Linked DNA regions of Homo sapiens: all the other regions are linked to region 3. The links are contacts of gene promoters, found by promoter capture Hi-C in blood cells and fetal thymus (Javierre and others, 2016). All regions are on one chromosome and are shown on one strand. The core of a region is centred on a gene start or on the middle of the fragment in contact, and the rest is flanking DNA. Distances in the headings are between cores, read along the strand shown. Region 1 has its middle 28 kb from the start of LINC02648. Region 2 has its middle 17 kb from the start of PRKCQ-AS1. Region 3 holds the start of IL2RA (interleukin 2 receptor subunit alpha).

Evidence for each region. The method cuts DNA at HindIII sites, captures the fragments that hold promoters and counts their contacts. A CHiCAGO score of 5 or more calls a contact.
Region 1: a fragment that was not itself captured here is called in contact with the fragment with the promoter of IL2RA in region 3 in 1 of 17 cell types (activated CD4 T cells); the score reaches 5.4 in activated CD4 T cells.
Region 2: a contact is called between a fragment that was not itself captured here and the fragment with the promoter of IL2RA in region 3, in 2 of 17 cell types (activated CD4 T cells and non-activated CD4 T cells). The highest score is 6.0, in activated CD4 T cells.

Annotation. Positions count from the first base shown.
Region 1 is chr10:6,645,653-6,648,352 of GRCh38, reverse strand. No RefSeq gene overlaps it. Among named protein-coding and RNA genes, the nearest start is that of LINC02648, 28 kb to the right of the region's middle. The HindIII fragment of the contact is 5,986 bases long and covers 1-2,700 here.
Region 2 is chr10:6,595,960-6,598,659 of GRCh38, reverse strand. No RefSeq gene overlaps it. Among named protein-coding and RNA genes, the nearest start is that of PRKCQ-AS1, 17 kb to the right of the region's middle. The HindIII fragment of the contact is 1,813 bases long and covers 537-2,349 here.
Region 3 is chr10:6,060,994-6,063,693 of GRCh38, reverse strand. IL2RA (interleukin 2 receptor subunit alpha) reads left to right here and starts at 1,327. Exons shown (of 8, transcript NM_000417.3): 1 at 1,327-1,606. The coding sequence starts at 1,543. RefSeq lists a cis regulatory region at 944-1,574 and an enhancer at 1,567-1,616. The HindIII fragment of the contact is 7,385 bases long and covers 1-2,700 here.

The DNA of each region.
Region 1 (2,700 bases), core at 113-2,612, 580 kb before region 3:
GAAAGTGGTGTCTCTGCTCTTGGCTCTTGGTATGGGAACCACAGTGAGTATGAATTACTGATTATAAAAATTTTGGTCTGATATTTTAAAATTCATTGCATCCTCACCCTAATAAACCTAGTAACCCTTTGTGAGGCTACAAAAAAAAAAGGCATATTTGCTTGCCCAGGGGGCTTCTCTTCCAGTTCACCTGGGTAGAATTCTGGGTGTAGTCCCCACTTCTACCACTAGGGACCACTCCCGTCCCCAGGGACCTTGTCTCAGTCCTGGACCCACAGCATCCGTTCCAGTCCCCAGAGCTCAACCACTGGGCAGGGAAAGCTCCCAGGAAGGGGCTCGGCTTCACTGTGGTTTTCTGTGAGCCACGTTTTCTGCTTATAGACCCGGGAGGTAGGAGCTGACCCAGTCTCCCACCGGCTCCTCCTCTGGTGGTTATGGCCAAGCCAGCCTGCACACCCCTGAGGCTGGAGAGGAGCATACTGCCCAGCCCGCCGGGCCCCGCGCTGCGGCCCTCAGACCTCTCCTGTTAGCTTCAGCGCGGTTCTCGTTCTGGCCTAAGGAAGCTGCTCTTCTTCCAAACCATCTCTCTCAAAATAGGTTGCCAGCCACTATGGTCTACTAGAATTGAGTTTCCCTATTTGAAAAAAAGGTTTTGTCTTTAAAAATAAAAAAAGAAAAAAAAAAAAAAGAGTCCAAGGAAGAAGCCGATTTTATTTATATTTGATTGAAATATTATTCCCTAATCCTCCATTATCATTTTCATTTCCCTCTATCTTTCAGCATTCTTTATTATTCCAGGGGTAGACCTGCCGTGGGTCTGATCACACCATTAATAATGTGACTTAAAAGCCTGTAGGTGCACACCCGGGAAGGCTGCCTTATTGGTCGAGCACTGCAGGGCCCTTCTCAAACGGACCACCATCACTGGGCCAGAGGCACTGACCCCTGAACATTACTTATACCTCCATGAGGAACTAGTGAGGCTACAGTGCCCAGACATTTAGCCTACAAACAGTACTGATGTTTCTGTAAAGGTATTTATAGATGCAATTAACATTTAAATTATAGACTTTGAGAAAGGAAGATGGGAAGGAAGGAGGGAGGGAGGGACAGAGGAAGGGAAAGAAGGAAGGAAGGGAGGGAGGGAAAGAGAAAGAAAGAAAGAGAGAGAGAAAGAAAGAAAGAAAGAAAGAAAGAAAGAAAGAAAGAAAGAAAGAAAGAGAAAGAAAGAGAAAGAGAGAGAGAGGGAGAGAAGGAGGGAGAGAGGGGGAGAGAGAGGGAGAGAGGGAAAGGGAAAGGGGCAGGGAGGGAGGGAGGGAAAGAGAAAGAGAGAGAGAGAAAGAAAGAAAGAAAGAAAGGGGGAGAGGGAGAGAAGGAGGGACAGAGAGAGAGAGGGAGGGAGAGAGGGAGAGAGGGAAAGGGAAAGGGGGAGGGACGGAGGGAGGGAAGGAAGGAAGGAGGGACGGAGGGAAGGAAGGAAGGAAGGAAGGAGGGAAGGAGGGAGGGAAGGAAGGAAGGAAGGAGGGAAGGAGGGAGGGAAGGAAGGAAGGAGGGAAGGAGGGAGGGAAGGAAGGAAGGAAGGAGGGAAGGAGGGAGGGAAAGAAGGAGGGAGGGGGGAGGCAAAGAGGGAGGGAGAAAAAAATAACACCAGGTTGCAATGAGCGATTTCATGACTTACAAGATTTGAAAGTGGACAGACTGACAGCTTCACTGCTAAGGAGCTTCTAAGCTGAAATGAAAACTGGAATCCCAGACTTTTTCCCACATCTGCCTCCCACGTTGCTGTGCATATAAGCACTAGGTTTCTGTCCCTCTGACTTCACAACAGAAAAGTAGATACTGGAATTCCTCTATATATCACCTTTTTAACCACTGCTATATCTTTCTGGGGCTCTTGCTAAAGTAGTAAGATTAATTTATATGATGAAAAGTGTTTTTCTTTTCTTTTCCTTTTTTTTTTTTTTTTTTTTTTTTTTTTTTGAGATGGAGTCTTGCTCTGTTGCCCAGGCTGGAGTGCAGTGGTGTGATCTCAGCAAACTGCAACCTCCGCCTCCGGAGTTCAAGTGATTCTTCTGACTCAGCCTCCTGAGTAGCTGGGATTACAGGCGTGTCCCACCAGGTCCGGCTAATTTTTGTATTTTTAGTAGAGATGGGGTTTCACCATGTTGGCTAGGCTGGTCTTGAACTACTGACCTCAAGCAGTCCACCCCACCTCGGCCTCCCAAAGAGCTGGGATTACAGGCATGGACCACCACGCCCGGCCTGAAAGTGTTTTTCTACAGGACACATTAGCACTTTCAACAACCACTAGTTCAGAGCCTCAGAAGTCCCTAAAAAGTGGTTCGCAACCCTGGGGGCACATGGAAATCACCAGAAGAGTTTGTCAAAGCTAGCGATGCTCCAGCCCCATCAAAAAGTATTAACTCAGAATCCTCTGTGTAGACCATGCAGAGGAAACTCCTTTAAGCTCCCGTAGTGACCCAGCCATGCAGCCAGAGTGGAGAAACCCCATCCTGAAAAACCAGGAGTGGGCCACCACCACTATTTGTCCCTGAACTGATGTCACAGTCATTGTTCAGTGGAGCTTGTAGTAAATTGGCTAGCACAGGCTTATTTCTCAGCTTGACTCTCAGCTTGGCTCTCTGGGGGACCCGATGTCCTTTCGGGCTCAGCTTACCAGTCATTTGACATTTCAGCCCC
Region 2 (2,700 bases), core at 194-2,693, 530 kb before region 3:
TAAGATGTTGGACATCCCAATTACCCTGATTTGATTATATGAATGTACCAAATTATTACATGTACCCTAAAAATATGTACAGCTATGGTGTATCAATAAAAATAAATAAATATTTTTATAGCAAAAAAGATCTGAGAGCAAAAGCTATAATAATAATATAAATTGCATATTCTGAAAACTAAATAAATGCCACCAAGAAAAAAATACTATCTTTAGGGAAGAGGTGGAACTTGAATTGGATGTGCAAAAAAAGGATTGGATTGGCAGAGGAGTAGAAAGGGAATTCCAGGCTGAGGATTGGTTTTAGCAAAAGTGCAGCATGGGAATGCATGTGGCATGTTCAAGAATTAATTAGGCAATGAGTTTAGGATAGAGAATATTTATGGAAATAGAGGGAGATAAATTTAAAGAAATAGACTGGGACTATACTACGAAGGATGATAAAGACCAGAAAAAGGAGTCTGAATGTTTATTCTATAACCCATAAGGTCTTATTGGCTATTTGGTGACTCAAACTATCAATAAGCCTTGAAGCTTGCAGACCAGAACTAACAAAATATCCCAGATAATATAGATGAACACAAGGAAGACTGCAGTGTGCTCTTGAACCACACAACTGCTACTCACAATTCTTTCGAATAATAAAAGGTGAAGGTGAGAACTTTAAGAAATGCTTAAAAGAAGGGGAAATAAAATAAAAATTGGGATGTCAGAGAGCTATATGCACTCCCATGTTCCCTATAGCAATATTCACAATAGCCAAGATATGGAATAACCTCTGTCCATCAAGGGATAAATGACAAAGAAAATGTGGTATAAGTAAAGCCTTAAAGAAAAGAAAAATCTATCATTCTTGACAACATGAATAAACCTGGAGGACATTATGCTGGGTGAAATAAGGCCGGCAGAGGAAGAGCAATACCACATTATCTCAAAACATCTCATGATGTGGAACATAAAGACGTCAAACTCATAGATGCAGAGAGTAGAATGGTGGTTACCAAGGACTGGAGGTGGGGGGGGAAATAGGGGATTGTTAAACCATACAAAATTTCAGTTCGACAGGAGGAACAAGTTCAATATATCCATTCTACAACATGGTGATTCTGGTTAACAGCAACGTGTCGTATACTTGAAAATTGCTCAGAGATTTTAAATATTCTCACTACAAACAAATGAAAACTGTTTGAGGTAATGTACATGTTAATTAGCTTGATGTAGCCATTCCACAATGTACACATATTTCAAAACATCATATTGTGCACCATAAATAGACACGGTTTTTAAAATTTCTCAATTTGAAAAAATGTTTTAGAGAAGAAAGCAAAGAAGACAAAAAGCAAGACCTTACTGCTGAGCCTGAATCCACCGGCCTGGATACCAGTGGATTTTCCTGAATGAAGTCACTGATTTTTTTTTTTTAAGTAATCATTACTTTTCAATTCTAGGACTTAGAAAATGCTTGTAACATATTTGCAAGGCAGTAAAGGATTAGTCACTGAATATATCAATGTGTTAAAATGATAAAATAATTAGGCAGGCAAGATGGAAAAGGAAAAAGGCTTTAAAATCTGCAGCGGAAGGATGGATTTAGATAGCTGCCTCATACCTCCTCCTTCTTGTTTTATATTTTTAATCCTGTTAAAAAAAATCACTCCCTCAACAAATATTCTTTGAATGGTGACTGTGTATCATGGGAAGGTTACTGGAGGCACAGGCTTAAAGTCAACACTGCTTTCAAATCTACACTCTGCCATCTACTCACCCATGGTTTTTGCAAATTGTGCGTATTTTCTGATCCTCAATTTTCTTTTCTGTAAAACAAAGATATAATATCTACCTCATAGTCTAATGTAAGAATCATATTTATAAAAGTTCTATAATATGCAATCAATTAATGGAAACTTAAAGATTAAAAAGTTTCATTTTCCATATCATCAAAAAAATGGAAAGATAAATTACTGTATGATAGGGCATTTGCTAATTTCCTAGCTATAATTTCAGCAATTGTGATAGGCTCTGCCTACAGAAATAATTTTAGTTGGAATTTAAATATCTCTATTAAATCTTTAAATTTCATTAGGAAACATAAATTCTGACTTCTCATTTAAAGATGGCCTATCCAATGTCCATGTATTTAGTTTCTCTGCTTCTCTGACTTAAAAAGAAATGGTATACTGAAAGTTATTTATTTGTTTCACATAATTCTACTTAAATCGCTTGAGATATCTGCTTTCTAGCTTCTCATTTAAAAAATCTCTCAAGTAATCTTGAAATACACAGTAACTTTTATTTTGATTTTCCCATTCAGCTTGGTGTTTAATTCTTTGAGATTCAGTGATTCAAGCTTTTAGTAAATTACCATTATGATTCTATTACATCATCAACTCCAGAATCATAGTACCAAGAGAAAAAAAATATATAAACTCACAAGTTTAAATTTGCTACAACTAATTATTGAAAAAAGCATTTTAATACTAAATCAGATTTTTAAGGCAGAGATCATACAACTGATACAAACTCCAAAAATTAGCAAAATCCCTGACACTCATTAATAAGCTCATTGTCTTTGATAGTGTCGTAATGATGTTTTTATTACATGAAAAGCTTTGTATAAGTTGGAAAAATACTTACGAGACATCATCAAATGTCTTTTTTTAACCTACATAAAAATAGCAACTAAAAAAGCACATCAGAAAC
Region 3 (2,700 bases), core at 78-2,577:
GTTCCTAGAGAGGAAGTTATACCTGCTGTGGAATTTAAGAGAATCTTGTCATATTTTGACAAGTTTTTTGAGATGGAAGTCTCACTCTGTCGCCCAGGCTGGAGTGCAGTGGCGCAATCTCAGCTCACTGCAGCCTGCACCTCCTCGGTTCCAGCTATTCTCTTGTCTCAGCCTCCTGAGTAACTGGGATTACAGGCGCCCGCCACTACGCCTGGCTAATTTTTGTATTTTTAGTAGAAATGGGGTTTTACCATGTTGGCCAGACTGGTCTCAAACTCCCGACCTCAGGTGATCTGCCTGCCTCAGCCTCCCAAAGTGCTGGAATTACAGGCGTGTGCCACTGCGCCTGGCTAATTTTTTTTTTTTTTTTTTTTTTTTTTTTTTTTTAGTAGAGACGGTGGTTTCACCATGTCATCCAGGCTGGTCTCAAACTCCTGACCTCAGGTGATCCACCCACCTTGGTCTACCAAAGTGCTCGGATTACAGGCATGAGCCACCAGGCCCAGTCAACGTGATGTGTTTTGGAACCCTGAATTCCTTGGCTTGCCCGGAGGGTTTTCTTTTTGTTAATATCTTTGCTTGCTTTCTAGTATTTAAAAAATTGTGTTTTGCTCTAACTATGCAATGGCTTTAAGTCTTAGACAAATTTCCAGGGAGCAAAACACACTCAACCATTTCATAATAATCAGAAGAGAGCTCTGATCAATAAATAAGCAAGACTGAATTTTACAAAATAATCCAAAGTTTAAAACCAAAGCCCACTTTTTGCATGATCCTTTAAGAGAAAGAAATCTGGAAGCAAAACACCTTATAAAATGACAATGCACTTTCAGGAGCCCAGGGCACTGTGGTGAAATGATGATGGCTAGTACAGGTTATAAGCCTTGGGGAATTATTTATGAATTCTCAGGATCCTTCAGTTCGCCGCATCCTTCTCCATTATTTGAATATTGGAGGCTGCCTGACCAGAATCTTGTCAGGACTTTGCTCCTTCATCCCAGGTGGTCCCGGCTGACTCCTGAGGACGTTACAGCCCTGAGGGGAGGACTCAGCTTATGAAGTGCTGGGTGAGACCACTGCCAAGAAGTGCTTGCTCACCCTACCTTCAACGGCAGGGGAATCTCCCTCTCCTTTTATGGGCGTAGCTGAAGAAAGGATTCATAAATGAAGTTCAATCCTTCTCATCAACCCCAGCCCACACCTCCAGCAATTGAACTTGAAAAAAAAAACCTGGTTTGAAAAATTACCGCAAACTATATTGTCATCAAAAAAAAAAAAAAAAAAAAACACTTCCTATATTTGAGATGAGAGAAGAGAGTGCTAGGCAGTTTCCTGGCTGAACACGCCAGCCCAATACTTAAAGAGAGCAACTCCTGACTCCGATAGAGACTGGATGGACCCACAAGGGTGACAGCCCAGGCGGACCGATCTTCCCATCCCACATCCTCCGGCGCGATGCCAAAAAGAGGCTGACGGCAACTGGGCCTTCTGCAGAGAAAGACCTCCGCTTCACTGCCCCGGCTGGTCCCAAGGGTCAGGAAGATGGATTCATACCTGCTGATGTGGGGACTGCTCACGTTCATCATGGTGCCTGGCTGCCAGGCAGGTAAGGGCCTGTGGGTGCCCCCGGAATTCCGGGAAGGCTGATGGGCATCCCTCTTCCCAGCCACAGAACCAGAGGGAGTCCCCAGGTAGATGGTTCCAAGAAGGGAGTTGAATCTTGGGTTCCACCTCTTGCCTGTGACCCACGGGGACCCCAGTTTATGCCTCACTGTTCCTTGGTCTGTCAAGAGAGCCTGAAATAGCATTAGGTTCTCCTGTCCTTCTCAGTCCTTGACAATTAATTCTGGGAAGAATAGTGTGGCATGATATTTGGGATATTTGGATGTTAACAGGGTCCCGATGAGCAGGTTTCTCAAGAAATTATCTTTTATTCTTCAATGAATTTCCTTTTATTCTCTGCACTCCCACCCCCCAACTAAGAAGCTATCAGGAAGCTCTTTAAGTTCAGGTTAATTTGCTGGAGACATGAGTACTCATATATCAAACACTGGGAGAATTTAAGATCTCAGAAAAGTTTAGCTTCAAGGATGTATACACTGCTTTTACGTCTTAGGAAATAACACCTAGGAATTTCCTTACAAGTGCAACTTTACAGAAATTTTTAAAAATATGCATACTCACTTTTAGAACATTACTACTTCTCATAATCCTATGTATATACATGATATGTATATGTATACGTGTTTATATATGCAAATTTTAAATTTCATTCCTTGTTTCAAATGGATTTTCTCGAAGATTTTTTTTTTTTGACACTGTCTCTGTCAGCCAGACTGGAGTGCAGTGGCGCGATATTGGCTTACTGCAACCTTCGCCTCCCAGGCTTAGCGATCCTCCCACCTCAGCCTCCTGAGTAGCTGGGACTACAGGCATACGCCACCACACCTGGTTAATTTATTTTTTTGTAGAGATGGGGTTTTTGCCATGTTGCCCAAGCTGGTCTTGAACTCCTGGGCTCAAGTGATCCACTCACCCTGGCCTCCCATACTGCTGGTACTACAGGCATGAACCACCGTGCCTGGCCAATATTTTTTTTTAAAGAAATAAAAAACCACCAACTTCTACCTCAAACCACTCTTCCTAATTGAGTGTGAATTTTCTAATAATGTCTTCCCTTTGCTTACTCAGGAAGACAGA